Regions from separate parts of the Homo sapiens genome. Here regions 1, 2, 3, 4, 6 and 7 are each linked to region 5. Evidence: promoter capture Hi-C in 16 types of primary human blood cells and fetal thymus (Javierre and others, 2016). All regions are on one chromosome and are shown on one strand. Each heading gives the region's core, a stretch centred on a gene start or on the middle of the fragment in contact. The rest is flanking DNA. Distances are from core to core; before and after follow the strand shown. Region 1 holds the start of YAP1 (Yes1 associated transcriptional regulator). Region 2 holds the start of TMEM123 (transmembrane protein 123). Region 3 has its middle 57 kb from the start of BIRC3. Region 4 overlaps LOC105369460 (a long non-coding RNA gene). Region 5 holds the start of DYNC2H1 (dynein cytoplasmic 2 heavy chain 1). Region 6 overlaps LOC105369463 (a long non-coding RNA gene). Region 7 has its middle 5.7 kb from the start of BIRC3.

What was found. The method cuts DNA at HindIII sites, captures the fragments that hold promoters and counts their contacts. A CHiCAGO score of 5 or more calls a contact.
Region 1: a contact is called between the fragment with the promoter of YAP1 here and the fragment with the promoter of DYNC2H1 in region 5, in 2 of 17 cell types (activated CD4 T cells and M1 macrophages). The highest score is 5.5, in activated CD4 T cells.
Region 2: a contact is called between the fragment with the promoter of TMEM123 here and the fragment with the promoter of DYNC2H1 in region 5, in 1 of 17 cell types (naive CD8 T cells). The highest score is 5.1, in naive CD8 T cells.
Region 3: a contact is called between a fragment that was not itself captured here and the fragment with the promoter of DYNC2H1 in region 5, in 1 of 17 cell types (activated CD4 T cells). The highest score is 5.5, in activated CD4 T cells.
Region 4: a fragment that was not itself captured here is called in contact with the fragment with the promoter of DYNC2H1 in region 5 in 1 of 17 cell types (total CD4 T cells); the score reaches 5.3 in total CD4 T cells.
Region 6: a contact is called between a fragment that was not itself captured here and the fragment with the promoter of DYNC2H1 in region 5, in 1 of 17 cell types (erythroblasts). The highest score is 6.4, in erythroblasts.
Region 7: a contact is called between a fragment that was not itself captured here and the fragment with the promoter of DYNC2H1 in region 5, in 2 of 17 cell types (total CD8 T cells and naive CD4 T cells). The highest score is 5.9, in total CD8 T cells.

Annotation. Positions count from the first base shown.
Region 1 is chr11:102,109,092-102,111,820 of GRCh38, forward strand. It overlaps YAP1 (Yes1 associated transcriptional regulator), which reads left to right and starts at 1,356. Exons shown (of 9, transcript NM_001130145.3): 1 at 1,356-2,078. The coding sequence starts at 1,758. It overlaps YAP1-DT (YAP1 divergent transcript), which reads right to left and starts at 1,366. Exons shown (of 1, transcript NR_198976.1): 1 at 736-1,366. RefSeq lists silencers at 1,079-1,128, 1,139-1,268. The HindIII fragment of the contact is 4,853 bases long and covers 654-2,729 here.
Region 2 is chr11:102,451,327-102,454,065 of GRCh38, forward strand. It overlaps TMEM123 (transmembrane protein 123), which reads right to left and starts at 1,439. Exons shown (of 5, transcript NM_052932.3): 1 at 1,198-1,439. The coding sequence starts at 1,297. TMEM123-DT (TMEM123 divergent transcript) reads left to right here and starts at 1,593. Exons shown (of 2, transcript NR_135053.1): 1 at 1,593-1,723. RefSeq lists enhancers at 443-492, 673-962, 1,693-1,802 and a silencer at 1,283-1,572. The HindIII fragment of the contact is 13,483 bases long and covers 1-2,739 here.
Region 3 is chr11:102,259,582-102,262,281 of GRCh38, forward strand. No RefSeq gene overlaps it. Among named protein-coding and RNA genes, the nearest start is that of BIRC3, 57 kb to the right of the region's middle. RefSeq lists an enhancer at 1,396-1,900. The HindIII fragment of the contact is 6,538 bases long and covers 1-2,700 here.
Region 4 is chr11:102,278,396-102,281,149 of GRCh38, forward strand. LOC105369460 (a long non-coding RNA gene) reads left to right here. Exons shown (of 5, transcript XR_007062863.1): 4 at 627-694; 5 at 1,438-2,754. Among named protein-coding and RNA genes, the nearest start is that of BIRC3, 38 kb to the right of the region's middle. The HindIII fragment of the contact is 819 bases long and covers 1,078-1,896 here.
Region 5 is chr11:103,108,166-103,110,865 of GRCh38, forward strand. It overlaps DYNC2H1 (dynein cytoplasmic 2 heavy chain 1), which reads left to right and starts at 1,261. Exons shown (of 89, transcript NM_001377.3): 1 at 1,261-1,604. The coding sequence starts at 1,410. RefSeq lists enhancers at 854-973, 1,044-1,093. The HindIII fragment of the contact is 957 bases long and covers 836-1,792 here.
Region 6 is chr11:103,629,607-103,632,306 of GRCh38, forward strand. The region is part of intron 3 of LOC105369463 (a long non-coding RNA gene); the gene reads right to left. Among named protein-coding and RNA genes, the nearest start is that of MIR4693, 220 kb to the right of the region's middle. The HindIII fragment of the contact is 1,576 bases long and covers 542-2,117 here.
Region 7 is chr11:102,310,447-102,313,146 of GRCh38, forward strand. No RefSeq gene overlaps it. Among named protein-coding and RNA genes, the nearest start is that of BIRC3, 5.7 kb to the right of the region's middle. RefSeq lists an enhancer at 1-66. The HindIII fragment of the contact is 1,936 bases long and covers 352-2,287 here.

The DNA of each region.
Region 1 (2,729 bases), core at 106-2,605, 1.0 Mb before region 5:
ATGTTCTGGCTGAAGGAAGAAATTACCTTTTTGCTCACGGACTTTTTCCTTGCTTAATCCTACTTATACCTTTGTTTCACTAGCATTGTAGACAAAATCATTAAAACAAGAAAGCCAGATTTCCTTAGAATGGGCTTGTGCATTTAAAATTAGACTGATGTTGCACAATCCTATGAATATATTTAAAAAAACAGTGAATTGCTTAAATATACTAATATGTACAACTATTGCAAAAACTGTATGGTATATAAATTATATCTCAACAAGGATGCTTTAAAAAAAAAAAACCCAGAGTGTATGACTTAAAAAACATTTCTATTGTTTTTGAGTGGCTTCCAGAAGGGCTCCTTGTACATCAGGTGCCTGGGATGACCTCCTTGCCCATTCATTTCTTATTCAGTCCACATTAACGGAGTCCACCGTTGGGCCAGGCACAGGGATAGCAGGGGTAGGGACCCAGCTCCTTGAGGATGAAAGACAGGTACAGAGGCATGAATGCTTGTACCTGAAGACGCACTAATTTTTTGGGTTGCGGCTTCCAGTGACTATTGCAAATTCGAGTACTAAAAAAGTTGATGTGATTTCACTATTTGGAAAATGTAGTGTTTTTGTTTCTTTTAATAAGTTACACTGAGTTACAGACCTGGTCTCAAAGCTTCAATTACAGTAACCGTTTACCCCTCTCAAGTGAGTTTTTGCAGACTAACAGATAAGTGAAACAATTACAAAATAAAGTTAATGCTGAAAACAATGGATCTTTATTAACATCAATGCCGGCTCACGGTATCTATTTTAACTCCAATCTATCCTCGCGGCTTTAAGCTCGCACAGGCGCTCCGCTCGGTCAAGCCGGGGTAACGCGAGGAGGAGGAGGTGGGTTCGCACATCCTCTCTCCACTTCTTTCGGCCTTGGCCCTTTCGCAGGTCCAGGCGAACTGGAAGCGCCTTTCCCGAGCACGGGCGGGGAAAAGGGGCCGAGCGGAGCGGAAGAACTTCCTGCAGCCAAGGGCGCCCGCGTTCTCCGCAGACACCACAGTTCGGACCCGGATTGGACCCATCGTTTGCGGTTCGCGGGGCAGAATACGGGGCACGCTTCGGGCCCCTGCCCGGCTGAGCGCGGGCGAAGGGCGGACCGGGCCAGGGCGAGCGGGTCACGTGCGGCCGGGAGAGGCGCCGCGGGCCGGGAGTGTGCAGGAATGTAGCAACTTGCAGCGAAAAGTTTCCCTGCGCTGCCGGCCGGGCCGCGGTGCGGGCGGGCGCGCAGAGGAAGGAAGAGCCGAGAGGAGGCGGGGCCGCGGCGGCGCGGGCGGGCGCTTCTCCTAACTTTAGTTTTGGCGTTTGAGGCGAGTTTCTGTCTCAGTCGGGCGCAGCCGCCGCCAGGGAAAAGAAAGGGAGGAAGGAAGGAACAAGAAAAGGAAATAAAGAGAAAGGGGAGGCGGGGAAAGGCAACGAGCTGTCCGGCCTCCGTCAAGGGAGTTGGAGGGAAAAAGTTCTCAGGCGCCGCAGGTCCGAGTGCCTCGCAGCCCCTCCCGAGGCGCAGCCGCCAGACCAGTGGAGCCGGGGCGCAGGGCGGGGGCGGAGGCGCCGGGGCGGGGGATGCGGGGCCGCGGCGCAGCCCCCCGGCCCTGAGAGCGAGGACAGCGCCGCCCGGCCCGCAGCCGTCGCCGCTTCTCCACCTCGGCCCGTGGAGCCGGGGCGTCCGGGCGTAGCCCTCGCTCGCCTGGGTCAGGGGGTGCGCGTCGGGGGAGGCAGAAGCCATGGATCCCGGGCAGCAGCCGCCGCCTCAACCGGCCCCCCAGGGCCAAGGGCAGCCGCCTTCGCAGCCCCCGCAGGGGCAGGGCCCGCCGTCCGGACCCGGGCAACCGGCACCCGCGGCGACCCAGGCGGCGCCGCAGGCACCCCCCGCCGGGCATCAGATCGTGCACGTCCGCGGGGACTCGGAGACCGACCTGGAGGCGCTCTTCAACGCCGTCATGAACCCCAAGACGGCCAACGTGCCCCAGACCGTGCCCATGAGGCTCCGGAAGCTGCCCGACTCCTTCTTCAAGCCGCCGGAGCCCAAATCCCACTCCCGACAGGTAACCTCGTTGCCCCTCTCCCCGTTTCCCCGTCGGGCGGGCCTCAGACCGGGGGGGCGCTCGGGAGCCGCGGCCGCCAGCTCTGGTCAGGGGAGGGGGGTTGCGGGAACTCTAGCTGGGGTGGGGGTCCCGAGGCGAAGTGGAACTGGAGTCGTCCACTCCGCCGCGGTGACCAGCTCCCCACTCCTCCCAGAGTCCGGGGCTGAGATTTGTTTTTCCCTTCTGAGTTTCTCTCTGCGGTTGCAGCCCCGGGGGGCGTGCTTTCCCTCCTTCTTCCTTTCTTTCTTCCCGGGGTTCCCGAGAGGTTGGCGGGAGTGGAGGAGGGGTGGGGAGGAAGGAAGGGGGTGGGGAAAAGTCGGGCCTGGGCCGCGGTGGGCTTGCACAATGCGCGCGCCTCCGCGCGCTCCGCACCTTCGCTCCCGCCGGGCCGGGCTGGGAAAGGGGGAGGGGGGCCTCTGGCATTTGTGTGTGGGTGTGTTGCCAGCGGCGGCCGAGTTTGTGAAGTTGAGCCCTGGGCCCCTTTCCTTTGCGGCCTCTCGGTCCACTTCAGTCTCCTGGGGGAGTCAAATAATTGTTCTCTTGTTTTCCAGTGTTGATTAGAGGTGGGGGTAGAACCGGTCCATTTAGTTTTTTGCTCTTTCTTTCCTTCCC
Region 2 (2,739 bases), core at 189-2,688, 660 kb before region 5:
ATGGACATGATTTTACCACTTTTTTTCTTAAATGATCTCAAAATTAGGTCTGCGAAGCCAGTTTGTCACACGCACAATTAAGCAAACAAAAAAACTTCAGCAAAACAAAGAAAAATTGTTAATTCACCCAGGTTATTCCAGAAAAAGCAAGTGTTGTGCCTGAACCTTCCAGATTTACAAACTGCCTTTTTCTTTTGCTGGATAAAACGAACCTAAGGCTAACATATACAGTGGATGGATAGAACTTAAAACCATGAAAACCTTGGGTTACTTAACTTATCCTAGTTTACTGACCATTACCTAGGGACCTGACTTCTCTAACAGTTGACAAAGGAAAACAGTATTTACACAACAAATCCCAACTTCCTGGTTTCATCCAAAAAGGGCTGTTTGAAGTCTCCAAAGGGCCAAGGGCCTAAAACGAAACAAATTCCGCCCTACACAGAAAAGCAAAGTCAACATCATCCTGTTACGACCTTACTAGCGACGACAAGGGCCACCGGCGACCGTGCAGCTGTGCCCTTAACGCTGCGCAGCTGCCGCGCGCCTCGGCCGGGTGTTTATGGCACACGAGGGGTGGAGAGCGCCCCGCCATGGGGGCGGCCGCCTCAACTACCGCGAGGGCGGGGCGCGCTCCCCAAAAGCTCCCAACTAGCTCCAAGAGCCCCGAAGTCTAACTTCGAGCGTCAGGGGGACCTAAAGATTGTAATTCATCTGGATAATACTGCATAATATTAGACGCTGAAATGCCTGGGGGACGCTTGAAAAGCTCCCCGACTAACTGGGAGACGTTTCCGCGGGCCTAGGTAGACATATTTTTCAACTCAGCTAATCTTGTTTACAAACGGAAGCCTTAGAAACTCTAACCTCGGCAAACATTAACTTCAGGGAAAGGCTGTAAAAACCAACTTGCGGTAACTCAACAGGTTATGCGCACCCGTCCCGGCCTGCGACCGCCGCATCCAAAAAGCGAGAGGGGAAGCACCAGGCAATTTCCTCAGCAGGCGGCCCCGGGGCCAGCGGGTGACTGGTCCAAACCTCAGTTTCCCCCACCCCGCCCGGTCACCTCTGGGTCCGCCCCGAGCGTTCGGCCAGACACACGCGGAACTTTCTGTACCAGAGCCCAACTTGGGAACCCAAGCCTCGGCAGCGCGCTGCCTCCCACGAACGGGGCTGACGACCCCCGCAGCCACTTACCCGCCATGGCTGCGCTTTCATGGGCGGCCCCCAGCAGCGCTAGCACCTGCAGCGTCCCCAGGAGCAGCGCGGCCCAAGCACCTCGCGCGCCGAGTCCCATTGTTCCGAGGGCAGGATGCGGCAGCCTCGTGGGCTCCCAGCCGAGGTGGCGGCGGCGAGAGCGGCTCCTCTGCGCAGCCGGCGCCGGCTCCGCTTCCCCTTCGGCCGCGCACGTTTCCCCTCCCGCCGCTTGCCCCCCGAATGACCAAATAGGGCGCAGGAGCGGGGCCTGGAGGGGGCGTCGCGTGCGCAGCCGGGGCGGCGGGGCCGGGCTGGGTGGCGCGGGGGCGGGCTCGGGGTTCTGGGCGTGGCGACTCGGCTCGCGGCCTCCCTCGCAGGCGCGCGCTTGGGAACCCCAGAAACCGCGAGCCGTTTCCTTTCTCTTCGGAAATGGCAGTTTTGTTGTCCTGGATGAAGGCGAGCGCCGCTGCCTCCCTGAATGCTGAGCACGCTGGCTTCGCGGTGCCCGGAAGGAAGCCTTTGAAGAGTAGTTTTGCGGGCAGGGAGGGGACAGGGGTGCGTGCGACTCAGAGTGAGAGGGAGGAGTTGCAGGGCAAAGGCGGGAGGAGGGGGAGATTCTGGAGAGGAACTTGAGGGGATGGGATTCACTCTAAGGAGTCCTGGGCGGTCGGAGCTTTCCCCTCGCGTGACCCAGCCTAAGGGGGAAGTGGAGAAAAACAGCTCGACAGATTTGTTGCTTAAATTCAAACGTAAAACACCTACGATCTTCTTATCCCAGTTGTACTTCATCTTCTCCACGGGTTCCCTGTATCTCTGATTAAGACACGAGATTAGTGGAGTGGGCGGGTGGGGGCGCGCGCAGGAGTTGGTAGCAACTCTCAGTGAAATACAGTAGAGCCATGGAAAGCGGGGGCTGCATTAATCCAACCAGCCTTTTCTCTCCTTGTGCCCTGCTGTCCCAGTTCAGATGAAATGGCCAGTTTTGAACAGTTTTTGGCTGAGTTCCTTTTAAACCCTTGGAGCCAATGCTAATCACTTGTCTTGACTTGAAGTGCTTGTAAAGTCTGCATTTTCATCGTGCTCAGAACTCTGAAGTGACATAGCTACCTGTGGCTAATGCATGAGAATAACAAAGGCTGAGTCCTGGCTTGGGTGGGAACCCTCAGCTGAAGTAGAAGACTGAAGGATCCAAGGAACCTAAAATCACAGTGAATCCCCACCTGCAAAGGTCTTAATGTTGCAGATCTTTGGCACCTGAGCCAGATTTCATCACATAAAGGCCACATTGCAGTTAACTTTTGAAAACTGTGTTATGAGAGGTAGAACTTTCTCATGTCAGGCAAATCCATCATTACAGAGGTCTGACTGGTCCTAGAGATTAACTGAGACAATCTGTCCTAAATTTACAGAGACTTCCATCTGTGGATTCAGTCAGCCAACCTGCAAATGTTTCCCCTGCAGCTTATCATGGACAAAAAGCAAGCATTGCACATTTCGATTTTGGTTATTCTATTTAACTGGGGAATCTGGTTTAGGAATAAA
Region 3 (2,700 bases), core at 71-2,570, 850 kb before region 5:
TCATCTGCTACATCCTGCAGTTGTGAATCTTTAAATCACCATCAGGGTGGTTCAAGTCAGGCCTCTGTTCACCCTATCGTAGAGACGTTCTTGTTTTTTAATTACTATACAGATCAGGCAGAACCTGCATGAGCTGCCCTGTAATTTGGTCATAGGGGACCCATAATCAATCACCTACTGCCAGGTAACAGAGATCCTGTTATTCCGAACATTACCCCGACCATGCTGCCTATTTTCGTAAGAACATCCACCATGCCTTTGCCTAACCTCCGCCATCCTGGATCATGCTTTTTCTCCCCATAGAAATCAGGAAGCTCATTTCAATTTAGACATTTTTCTGATGGCCAGTATAGCAATATTCAAAGATGCTGGTGCTTCCCTTTCCAGTGTTTCTCAAAGTCTTGGTGCACACTGGCCGGGCACGGTGGCTCACACCTGTAATCCCAGCACTTTGGGAGGCTGAGGCGGGTGGATCACCTGAGGTCAGGCGTTCGAGACCAGCCTGGCCAACATGGTGAAACCCCTTCTCTATTAAAAATACAAAAAAAATTAGCCAGGCATGGTGGCAGGCACCTGTAATCCCAGCTACTCTGGAGACTGAGGCAGGAGAATTGTTTGAACCCGGGAGGTGGAAGTTGCAGTGAGCCAAAATCTCATCACTGCACTCCAGCCTGGGTGACAAGAGCAAGACTCCATCTTTAAAAAAAAAAAAAAAGTATTGGTGAACACTATCTTCTAGCTCTTTAAGGGACATATTTTGGTGAGGAGTGAGCAGTTCACCCATTAAAAAACCACTCCAGCATTCCTATTTTCCTAAGCCTTTGAATTACTTCCTTTGTATTATACTAAGGAATTTCTGGCACCTCAACTTCAATTAGCATGGGTAAGCTACGGCAGACCACAAAGGAGACCAAGGTTTGTACATTGGTGAGAATGACAGCTCAGACTTAGCTAAGGCTTCTCTCACTAGACTTTACAATTGCTTCAAAACCTTCACACATGATTAAGAATACATGTTGGTGTGAGTAAACGAGCACCTCAGGATCTCCTTTTTAAAATTACTTATGTATTTATTATTATTATTATTATTATTTTTTTTTTTTGAGACAGAGTCTCCCTCTGTTGCCCAGGCTGGAGTACACTGGCACATTCTCGGCTCACTGCAACCTCTGCCCCCTGGGTTCAAGCGATTCTCTGGCCTCAGCCTCCCCAGTAGAGGGGATTACAGGTGCCTGCCACCACGCCCGGATAATTTTCATATTTTTTTAAGTAGAGATGGGGTTTCACCATGTTGGCCAGGCTGGTCTCCAACTCCCGACCTCAAATGATCCACCTGCCTTGGCTTCCCAAAGTGCTGGGATTATAGGCGTGAGCCACTGTGCCCAGCTGGGATCCCCCACTTTATTTTTTTGGAGACAAGAGTCTCACTCTGTCACCCAGGCTGGAATGCAGTGGCATGATCTCGGCTCACCGCAACCTCGGCCTCCTGGGTTCAAGCGGTACTCCTGCCTCAGCCTCTGGAGTAGCTGGGATTACAGGCTTGAGCCATCGCGCCTGGCCAGGATCCCCATCGTTAATTACAGAGGTGTACCCTCAGTTTGGTGGTCTCAACAGCCCTCCCAGAGTGATGAATTCATCAGGTCAATGGAGTTGAGAAACATGACTGCCTTTGATACCACTTTAGGCTGTCCATTATTTCAAGGGTCCCACCTATTTCCAGAAAATAAAAAAGAAAACTTCTCATCTCACTGCAGGGACATAATCTGGTTCCTGCTGTTTTTATGCCTTTCTGCATCCTCAGGCCTGCTTGAGGCTTTGTCGTTGCAGGTCTGGGCAATAGCTTGCCACAGTGGGCCAGCTATTTTGTTGTTGTTGTTTTGAGACACAGTCTCACTCTGTCGCCCAGGCTGGAGTGCAGTGATGCCACCTGGGCTCACTGCAGCCTCCACCTCCCAGGTTCAAATGATTCTCGTGTCTTAGCCTCCAAAGTAGCTGAGATTCCAGGCCTGCACCACCATGCCTGGCTAATTTTTGTATTTTTAGTAGAGACGGGTTTTCACTATGTTGGCCAGGTTGGTCTCGAACTCCTGACCTCAAATGATCCTCCCACCTCAGCCTCCCAAAGTGCTGGGATTGCAGATGAGCCACCGCGCCCAGCCAATGGGCCAGCTTTTAAAATAGAAATGGAGCACACAATGAGAATTGCTCCCAGCTGTTTGATCTAGCCTAGCGATTTCAGAATCTCTGATAATTTCATTCACATTGATGATTTCAGCCTAAAGTTTTCATCTTTCCTACTTAATCTGGCGCCCTCAGAATAAACCTTAGGTAGCCTATTTTTTTCCTCTAATATAAAGTAGCAAAAACTCTCCCCTTAGTCTGACTTTGTAATTGCCTCATTAGTCCCATCTAGGCACTCCTCAATCTAGTTCAGCTGACACCCAACATTAACCATCACACGTGCCCAAACTCATGCTACAGAGTGAGTCTGCTGGGCAGACACACACAGCCACTTGCACCTCTAACATCATCAGTTTTGGACAAGGACACGAAATGTCTGTTCCTGCTGCCTCTGGGAAGTGGCTGTAGGAGGGAGGCTGCGTGTGCCAGAATAGAGTCAGTATGGTTTCTGCTTTTTTGAATCACTTGCTTCCAGTTCATCTGATGAATGGAAACTTCATGTCAATGTCTTTATTCTAG
Region 4 (2,754 bases), core at 237-2,736, 830 kb before region 5:
CATGTTGGCCAGGCTGGTCTCGAACTCCTGACCTCAAGTGATTCACCTGCCTTGGCCTCCGAAAGTGCTGGGTTTACTGGCGTGAGCCACTGCGCCTGGCCTTTCTTTTTATTATTTTTTAAACAATAGTATAGCAGCAATTTACATAGTATTTAAATTGTAGTATGTATTATAAGTAATCTAGAAATGGTTTAAAGTATACAAGAGAGGCCAGGCATGGTGGCTCACGCCTGTAATCTCAGCACTTTGGGAGGCTGAGGCAAGCAGTCGTGGTGATGCACACCTGCAGTCACAGCTACTTGGGAGGCTGAGGCACGAGAATCACTTGAACCCAGGAGCAGAGGTTGCAGTGAGCTGAGATCATGCCACTGCACTCCAGCCTGCGTGACAGAGTGAGACCCTGTCTCAAAAACAAACAAACAAAAGTATGCAAGAGGATGTATGTAGGTTATATGCAAATATTACACCATTTTATATCAGGGACTTGAGCATCCTTGGATTTTGGTATCTGCAGAGGGTCCTGAAACCCCGATGGATACCAAGAGACAACTGTATTTGCAAAGGCATAAAGGCTTGGGAAGGTTTGGCATATTTGGAGAATTAAAAATAATTTTGTATGGCTGTAGGACAAGGTGTGTATGATAAAGCAGTGGGAACCAGGCAAAGAAGATCATTAAAGCCCTTACCAGCCAAGGTATGAAGTTTCCATTTTATTTTATACAAATGTCTATTACAGAGTTAAGGATTCCAGGTCATTCCATCTTCATATCACCTCTGATACCTAACATCATGCCTGGAACACAGTAGGCCTCCTCTTTACACTTTCTAAACTGATTTAAAATAGTTTTTGTCATCTCTAAGTGATAAAATCTGGGGAAATAGAGTTAAAACTAAAGTTAAATCTAATACATTTGCAAACAAATTTCTTATTTCCATGTGTTTGCTTTCATTATTTTAATACCCAAACAAACCCAGATATACAAGAAAATGAGCTATTACTTTTTCACTTTAATTTTATGTTTCTCCATGGTGTAAACATTTTAAAAATCAACTTCATATACTTTTCCAATTTAAAAAAGCTTATGTTTTGTTAATAAAGAAAATAGAAGCCTAAATATTGAAGGTAAAAAGTGATTTCCTCATTAATTTACATTCCCTCTGAGATTTATTGCACAGTAAATTAGTTAATTGCAAACCTTCTAACAATGTTTTACTCCATTATAGATTACTTTGGAAAAACAAATTTGATTTTTCCCTCTTGAACAATGAGTGGTTTATTTTAAAGTAGGTGAAAGGTAATGTGAAGGAAAAAAAAACCCAGCTTCACAGATGTATAGTTTAAAGTTTGCCAAGTACTTAGCAAAGGGTTACACTAACTTCAAACGGTTGGAAAGTATAATGTAATGTGAGAACTCGAAGGTCTTGTTTCTCTTTCAGCTCCCATTCTCACTCAGTCCCCTGCAAACCATCGGCATAAAGAGCAAAGTTTCAGAGATCACATCCTCTAGTGGAGAGCAAATGAACAAAAGGGGAAAGAGAGACGCGATGAATTGCACGTGCGCTATTATATTTGCAAGCGGGTTACATTGTCCTTGGATAAGAATTTTATATTCCCCGTGAGTCGGAGACTCTGTGCTCTGAATTATGTTGCTCAATTCAAGCGATGATCCAAGGCCAATGACAGTATACCAAGCTATCATTTCTTGGCAGGTCGAATAGTCATGTGTATATTTTATGTTCCTTATAAAAGTTAGGCGATATAAATATTGGTGATATGAAAGTTGATATTTTACATAAATTGTCAATTGCTAGTCAAACACGTCAAGGTTTTTTCTTTATGTGGTGGGGCTTTAAAATCTCAGCAGGGAGTTCTTTGAGTTTGAAGTGTCTCCCCTAAGCTTTCCATTTCAGACACTGTTTTTTTCCAAAACAGGTCTCAGTGTGTTGGTGTTTCCAAAGTGCAGATGATTCCTGTTCTTATTTTGTGGCTGTTCTTGCAGAATGCTATCAGCCCCAGATCTAGGGTAGAGGACAGGCTTGATTGGAGCCTTTGCCTGTTACAATGCATGATTCCACCACAGGCCAGCTGTGACCATTCCGCCCAGTGACAGCGTGGTTGTCTTTCCTCATAGGTGAAGGAGGTGACTTCTTATGGGACATGATTTCTGAAGCAGAAGTTTACCTGAGGTTCCTGGAAGAAATGTTTTCCCCACCTGTTGGCTCCCTGAGTATTAACATGCCAGATGCAAAGCTTCATTCATTCTATTAAAATGCAAATGAGCCCAACAGTGTAGTAAAACAGTTTGCTGCTAGAAGTTATTTACAATATTCTAAGAGTAACGCTCTTATTCACCCTAAGCACAGGTTTTAATAAAAAGTGGAAGGGATCGCAAGGGTATTGAGATCTCAGCAAGAGAAGGAAAGGGAAAAGGTTGTTTAAAAACAACATTAATAGAAGACATACCGTATAGAGAGAAAAACGCAGACTGTGCATGTTCAAGATAACTTTCATTACAATTTTGCCTAAGCCAGGGTGAATGCAAATGTTTCAGTTTTAACAGACTGGATCATTCATTCAAAAAGCATTTATTGAGTGCCTTCTCAAAAAAGAATGATAATTAGATTTTTTAAGTTATAAAGAAAATATAAAACCAAAACTGGAGAAATATACGCCAACATTTTTCCAATGGTTCCGTTGTCAAAGTAGAATTAGAATGTAAGTGCAGAGTTAAATTCCATTGTCTATCAAGAAGT
Region 5 (2,700 bases), core at 11-2,510:
TTTTTCCCTCACCCAGTGGTCAGCATCCCACCTCACTGTTTGGATGTTTTCCCATCCAGTGGCCAGACTCCCATCTCTCACTGTTTGGATATTTCATGAGAATTTACATTCATTTCCTTTTATAATTTAGAGCAGTTCAGCTTTTTTAAGTTCCCACTCCAAAATCTTAAGTTGCTCAGCAAATAAAAGGACTCTCTCCTTCCAATTCTCAAATAGTATAGTTTTAAGGGGAGGTTATGATTATTAAGTGCAAACAAAAAAAATCTGCATATGTTTGTGTACCCTAGGATCTTGGGTCAAACCAGTGCTGAGGTGATGAATGACTACAGCAAAAACTTCCTGAGGGCAGGAACTGTGTCCCCAGGGCCTAGTTCGGTACTTGGCAAATTGTGTTAGATTGGTGCAAAAGTAATTACAGTTCTTGCCAAAAAACCGCAATTACGTTTGCACCAACCTAATAGCATGTAGTAAATATTTTTAGAAGAGAATTACTGAATTGAGAAAGTGTTTGACGAATGTTCGGATGAATGACCAGCAATTTAGTAGTTTATAGTAATGCCATGAAGTAGAAAATGACAAAGACCGTTTTCATATCTGTATTTTCACAGAATTTGGTTGCGGTTGTTATAAAATAAACTAAAAAGTATCATTTTACATTTTAGCTATTTTACAAATATGGTTGTGCTCGGGTAATGATTGCAATAAAAAATTGCTGGTTAAATTATTCTAAAATTAATAATAGAAAAAACGATGTTGGGAAATGCAGCAGCACAGAAAGGAGCAGAGGGCGACTGAGAAAGTAAATTAACATTGTATTGAATTCCTAGTCTTTATAAGCTTCTCTAAAAAGCGATTTTTAAATAGTAATCTTTTACAATCCGCACTACACCCCTGGTTGTGAGATAGTATTTCCCCTTCTTAACAGATGTGTACCTTGACGCTGACAGACTGGTTTGCTACCAGGTGCACGTGGAGAGCGAGCACTGGAACCCAGCTCTCCTAAATCTAGATCACGCTGCTGTACTTGAAGGCTAGATGTCTCTCTTCTGATTATGCGTGATAAGAAATCAGTAAGAAGAATAAAAGACATGTTTGAGAGCCAACATAAACTTGTCCGAACCCCTTACAATCGATGACCGCAGGGAGCCGCTGAAGAGCTCCGAGGCGGTCGATAGCCTCCGCGAGCTTTGCGTGCGCGTGCCCCGAGAGGGCAACGCCCACCGCGCGCCGCCAGCGACGCCGCCGTAGTGCTCCGTCGCCATAGCGACTACCCCTGGCAACCGCGAAGCTCTGCGGTCCCGCGGTCGGGCTACGGGTTTGAGCAAAGCTCCTCTCTTCCCTTCACTTCCCTCCGGACTGGTTTCTTCTTCCTTCCCCCTTCCCCCAACTTCCCTCCACCCCTTCCAATCATGGCGAACGGGACTGCGGACGTTCGGAAGCTCTTCATCTTCACTACTACCCAGAATTACTTCGGGTTGATGTCTGAACTCTGGGATCAGCCACTGTTGTGCAACTGTCTTGAAATCAACAACTTCTTGGATGACGGCAACCAGATGCTCCTCAGGGTGCAGCGATCCGACGCAGGAATCTCCTTTTCCAACACGGTACGGTTCCTTGCACTCCTGCCTGACCCCTGACCACTCTTCAAGTCCCCAGGCCCAGCCAGAGGGACGTCGGGTCACACTCTTTAGCTTTACCAACCAGATCCTTTTCAGGAACCCAAGGCTGTCTCCACTTCTCCTGCATTATTGGCTTAGATGCGTTGGCCTCGTGCTTAAGCAGGTAGTTTCCAAGCTTTGCATCCTACCTGACCGAAGCATGTTTCCCTTCCATACATCTGAATAGAAGCAATTAGATTGTGTTTTATTTTAAATTTTTATACGGAGTTTCGTTCTGTCGCTTAGGCTGGATGGAGTGTAGTGGCGCGATCTCTGCTCACTGCGTCCTCCACCTCCTGAGTTCAAGCGATTCTCGTGCCTCAGCCTCCCGAGTAGCAGGCGCGCGCCGCCACGCCTGGCTAATTTTTGTATTTTCAGTAGAGACGGGGGTTTCACCACGTTGGCCATGTGGGTCTCCATCTCCTGACCTCAAGTGATCCGGCCTCCCAAAGTGCTGGGATTGCAAGCATGAGCCACCGCGCCCGGCCTATATTCTACTTTTTAAGAAAGACTGCAGATACGTTATAACTAAAAAGAAAACATTTACTTAGTTATTTTTATTTTTTTCTCTCCCCTTTTTGAGTTTTTTTTTTGGGGGGAAGGCAAATTCTAGTCTATCTTTTTTGGATCAGGCTCTGATTTTAACATTGCCCAAGGGAAAGATTAGTTAGGAATTTAAATTTTTGTGAAATGATATATTTCAAAATAAAGTTTGAATTCTTTTTTGGTGTACATCATGTGATATACTGATTTATTAATTGCACTGCTCCCTCCACTGGCAGGATTGCTTAAAAAATGGGTTGCATTTGCAATCAGGGCTTATATATATAAGCCTAAAAGAAAAACACAGAAGAAAATTGCCTGACACATTAAAGGGGACTCAGTAAATAGATTTAAGTTAATAAAACAAAGACATATTTTAAACCTCTTCCTTTGGTGTTCACCCTTATCCCTAGGTCTAGCAGAGTTTTTGACACTCAGCAAAAACATTCAGTGCCTTTTTTTTTTTTTTTAGACGCAGTTCGCAGTTTCGCTCGTATTA
Region 6 (2,700 bases), core at 80-2,579, 520 kb after region 5:
CTTCCTCCTCTATTACACGCAATGTATATCGGAAAATTCTAAGCACATCTGACTACTGATATTCAAGAGATTTGACCATAGAATTTTGGAATAAGTTGCTTCATTTTGGAGTCACATTGAATGTGAAAACCTGAGAATGCATATTTTTGGGCTGGCATCTAATCATTAATAGCTGTGCCTTTTCTCAAGCACTTCAAATTTCTGAATTAATACATGATTTATATATATCTGAATTGTAAATAGTATAAAAGAGCCTCATCTGCTTTGGTTCAAACTGCAGCCCTAACTCTCATCAGTTGTATGAATTTGAGCAATTTACTTAACTTCTTAATGCTGTTTCTTCATCTGTAACAGAGCTGTTGTGAAGATTTAATGAGATAATAAAAATAGAGCATTGGGAATGATGCTATGTGTAATAAGTGCTCAATAAACCTGAACTTTTAATTCTATTATTCTAAAGTAAAACAATGAATTCCACCATAGACTCAAGGTGTCATTATTTTTAAGTGATGTTTGTATATTAATTTGTTATGTATCCTAAAGCTTGAATCATTTATGCCTTCATGCTTTTTAAAATTCATACCATTTTCATCTTGGTCTTTTCTCCATACATTCACCTATTAGATATTTTTAAATTTTATTTTTTCATTCATTTATTCATCCATGGCAAGGCTACATACCAAAGTCTTCACTCTTAAATTTTCTGTAAGTCTCTCTCCCTCTCTGCTATCTCACTGGTATCCTGAGTGCTGTTGGTCACTACCACCTTCCCAGCTCCCACAAAACAGAAAAAAAAAAAAATAGATTCAAAGAAGCCCTGGTTCAAAGAATAAGACAGAAAAACTTGGAGGTTTGCCAGCAAAGTTGGATACATAGAAGCTCATTTGATCCATTCAATAATCCTATGAATTAGACACTATTATTACCCCGACTTTACATATAAGGAAACTGAGTCAAAGAGCAGTTAGGTAGCTTGACCAAAGCCAAACAGAAAGTGGAAGAGAGAGAAATGAAATCCAGGTTGTCTAGCTCCTCAGTTGGACAAAAATCATCTCATCCTTATTCTGGAATGACTCATTATTCAGTTCAAGGGAGAGGCAGAAAAATAGATATAACATAGGTAAGTATTAAAAATATGGATTAATGAAAAATGCTCAGAAAGCAGAGAGGAGGGAATGGCCAACTATCAGGGACATCCAGTCCTATCCTGAAGGATAAATGGATTTTCCAGGTGGAAAGGGGTGTGCAAACACTGTGGGCTACAGGAACAATGTGTGCAAAGACCAGGGAGGTAGAAGAGCCTGATTCAGTTTAAGGAATGCCAGAGGGCTGTTTGGATGTCTACACAGAAGGAGACATTGGAGACATGACAGTGGACACATACCCCAAAATATGGCACATTGGCATTTAAGAAAACAGCAGAATTAGGAAGGTCATCCCCACTTTACCCTCACCCTTCTTTTCTGAAGTAGGTCAGAAGTCCATTATTGAGGTGCCCTCCTTAAACTCAGAATAAAGAAACATTCTTATCTCTGAAGACACAAGGACACAGAGAAGCTGAACAAACAAGTCTTCCTAATGTTGGGACTCAGAAAATAATACCCCAAAAGTTTGGTGCTTTGACATGCTGAATACTTTACTTATTTATGTATTTATTTTTGAGACAGAGTCTCACTCTGTTGCCCAGGCTGGAGAGCAGTGGCATGATCCCAGCTCACCACAACCTCCGCCTCCTGGGTTCAAGCAGTTCTCATGCCTCAGCCTCCCAAATAGCTAGGATTACAGGTGTGTGCCACCACACCTGGCTAATTTCTTGTATTTTTAGGAGAGATGGGGTTTTTAGGAGAGATAGGGCCTGTTATCTGTCATGTGATGTTATACCAGAGTTAGGCTGGACTTGGTATCTTATTGCTACAAAGAGTTTATTCTGTGAGTCTAAGGATCTCTACTTTAATGTTAATGCTGCCTCAAAAAAAAAAAAAAAGACATTTACTATCTACTCTTTCTGAAGCCTGCTTACCTGGAGACTTCATCTATATAACAAGAACTTTGGCTTCCATAAGCCCTCTATTTTAACCCTAAGCATTTCTTTTTGCTGATTTTAACTCTCTAGGCAAAGCTTAACTCATTCAAGCAATTGCAAATCAGGAAATCTTTAAATCCACCTAAGACCTGGAAGCTCCTGCTTTGAGATGTTCCAGCTTTCTGGGCCAAACCAATGTATTACTTACATTTATTGATGTATGTCTTTGCCTGTAACTTGTGTTTGCCTAAAATGTATAAAATCAAGCCATAACACATACACTTTGGGCCCATGTTCTCAGGGCCCCCTGAGGCTGTGTCACAGGTCATGGCCCTTACATTTGGCTCAGGATAAACCTTTTCAAATATTTTACAGAGTTTGGCTTTTTTCATCAACATGGGGCAAAGGCTAAATATACTTTATATTGTACCACGAGGGCTATAAATCCTGATGAGTAATCTATTGTCTGAAGAGGGAGCTGGTTGTGCAGTCTGTTGTTCAGATAAATGTATTTTTAGGAAGTTTCTTTGTCAACCAATAACATTATTTGTAACTTAACCTCACTGGGTGAGAATTTCCCAAAATAGTAAAGTGCTGTTACTATAGACATTTCTAATTCTTAATCCTATTAAGCTGTGTGGTTGATACAGGTTAATATAGGAAGGGTCCCTCCTACC
Region 7 (2,700 bases), core at 70-2,569, 800 kb before region 5:
TTTTATTTATGTATTTATTTATTTTTGAGACGGAATCTCGCTCTGTCACCCAGGCTGGGGTGTAGTGGGGCGATCTCAGCTCACTGCAACCTCCACCTCCCGGGTTCAAGCGATTCTTCTGCCTCAGCCTCCCGAGTAGCTGGGACTACAGGCGCACGCCACCACGTCTGGCTAATTTTTGTATTTTTAGTAGAGACGGGGTTTCACCATATTGGCCAGGCTGGTCTCCAACTCCTGACCTCGTGATCCACCTGCCTTGGGCTCCCAAAGTGCTGGGATTACGGGCATGAACCACCGCGCCCAGCCCTTTTTACATTTCAATAGTCCTAAATAGAAAAGTGAATATCACAAAGCTTCTAAAAGAAAATATAGAAGAAAATCTTCATAATCTTGGGATAGGCAAAGCGTTCTTAAACATGATATAAAACACACTGAACTTAAAAATATTATAAGTTGGACTTCATGGAATTAAAATATTCTACTTATCAAAAGAAACTATTAATGAAGCGTAAAGACAAGCTACAAATGGGGAGAAACTGTTCACAGTGCACATGTCAATGACAGGACTCAACCCAGGGTATATAAGGAATTCCCTGAAGTCAATCAATTCAATTTAAAAATTGGAGGAAGATTTGAACAGGCACCTCACAAAATATGATATCTAAAGTGTCGAGAAGCATATGGAAATATAGTCAACATCATTAATCAACAGGGATAGAAAAAAGCATAATGGGATGCCACCACATACCCAAAAGAAGAGCTAAACTTAAAAAGGCTCACAATACTAAGCCTTGGGAAAGATGTGTAGCAACTAGAACTCTTATACACTGCTGGTGAGAGTGTAAAATGGTGCAAAGACTTTGTAAAACTTTCGGCAATTTCTAATAAAAATAAAACATACACCTACCCAATGGCAATTCCGTATCCAGGTATTTAGCCAACAGGAAGAATTCATAGGTTCACCAAAAGAAAAACTAAAATGGGCTGGGCACAATGGCTGGGCACACCTGTAATCCTAGTACTTTGGGAGGCTGAGTTGGGCGGATCACTTGAGCTTGAGCTCAGAAGTTTGAGACCAGCCTGGACAACATAGTGAGACCTCATCTATATTATTAAAGAAAAAAAAATCTAAAATGTTTATAGGTTCTGGGCTGGGCATGGTAGCTCATGCCTGTAATCCTAGCACTTTTGGAGGCCAAGGCGGGCAGGTCACCTGAGCTCAGGACTTTAAGACCAGCCTGGGCAACATGGTGAAACCCCATCTCTACTAAAAGTACAAAAAATTAGCTGGGCATGGTGACTCGAGCCTGTAGTCCCAGCTACCGAGGAGGCTGAGGCACGAGAATCACTTGAACCTGGGAGGTGGAGGTTGCAGTGAGCTGAGATGGCACCACTGCACTCTACCTTGGGCAAAAAAGTGAGACTCTGTCTCAAAAAAAAAAAGTTTATAAGTTCTTTTCACAAGGGATTGAACCAGGCAACAACACAAATGTACATTAGCAGGAAAACAGAAAAAGAAACTATGGTAGGCCAGGCGCGGTGGCTCATGCCTGTAATCCCTGCACTTTGGGAGGCCAAGGCAGGTGGATCACCTGGGGTCAGGAGTTCAAGACTAGCCTGGCCAACATGATGAAACCCCATCTCTATTAAAAATACAAAAAATTAGCTGGGCGTGGTGGTGCACACCTGTAATCCCAGCAACTCAAGAGGCTGAGGCAGGAGAATCGCTTGAACCCGGGAGGTGGAAGTTGCAGTGAGCTGAGATCTCGCCACTGCACTTCAGCCTAGCCAACAAGAGCAAAACTCAGTCTCAAAATAAAAGAAACTATGGTATATTTATACAGTGGAATACTACTATGCAATAAAAAGAACAAATTACTGATACATGTTACAATATTGATGAAACTAAGAAATATGTTGAGTGAAGGAAGCCAGTATGAGTACACATCATATGATTTCATTTGTATGAAGTTCAAGGACAAACAAATGAGATCTAGGGTGATAAATCATAATAGTGATTGTGGGAGGGGGAGGGGTGGTGGGGGCATTATAGCTTGGTACTGACTGCAAAAGAGCATGAAAGAATTTTCTGAGGTAATGGAAGGTGTTCTTGATCTTGATCTGGTTGATAGTTAACTGAGTACATTCATTTGTCAAAATCATAAAGCTATACGCTTTTAATATCTGTGTACTTTACATGATATAAATTATATTTTATTAGAGTACTATCAGTATAAAATAAAGTAAGCCACCATTTATGAGGGGTAAACTTCATTATCTTGACTAAAGCTTTACATTAGAGGAGGTTTCTTTGTAAATTTGATCTTCGTTAGCACTTATTCAAGGCTGGTGTAATTGTATTTTATTTGCAAGATGTTAGAAAGTTATCAACAGACCAGGAAATTGTCAACATTTACAAGGACTCTCAGATTTGCTTTGGAATTAGAACAGTATGTTCCCTGTAAGATTTCACTTTCACTTTCAGTTCTAGATTCCTGGGTTTCTTTATACATAAAAATCTAAAAACTTACAGTGAAAAAGCATTAGGCTACAACTAAAGTTGTTACAACATTATGCGAAATTCCCTCCAGAGAAAAAATATTTTTAATAATAATTCCCCCAAGGGAAAAATACTTTTAAATTGATTATTTGATAATAGGATATTGAGAGCATACCGCTCTCAGGAATTGTCAGAGTTCT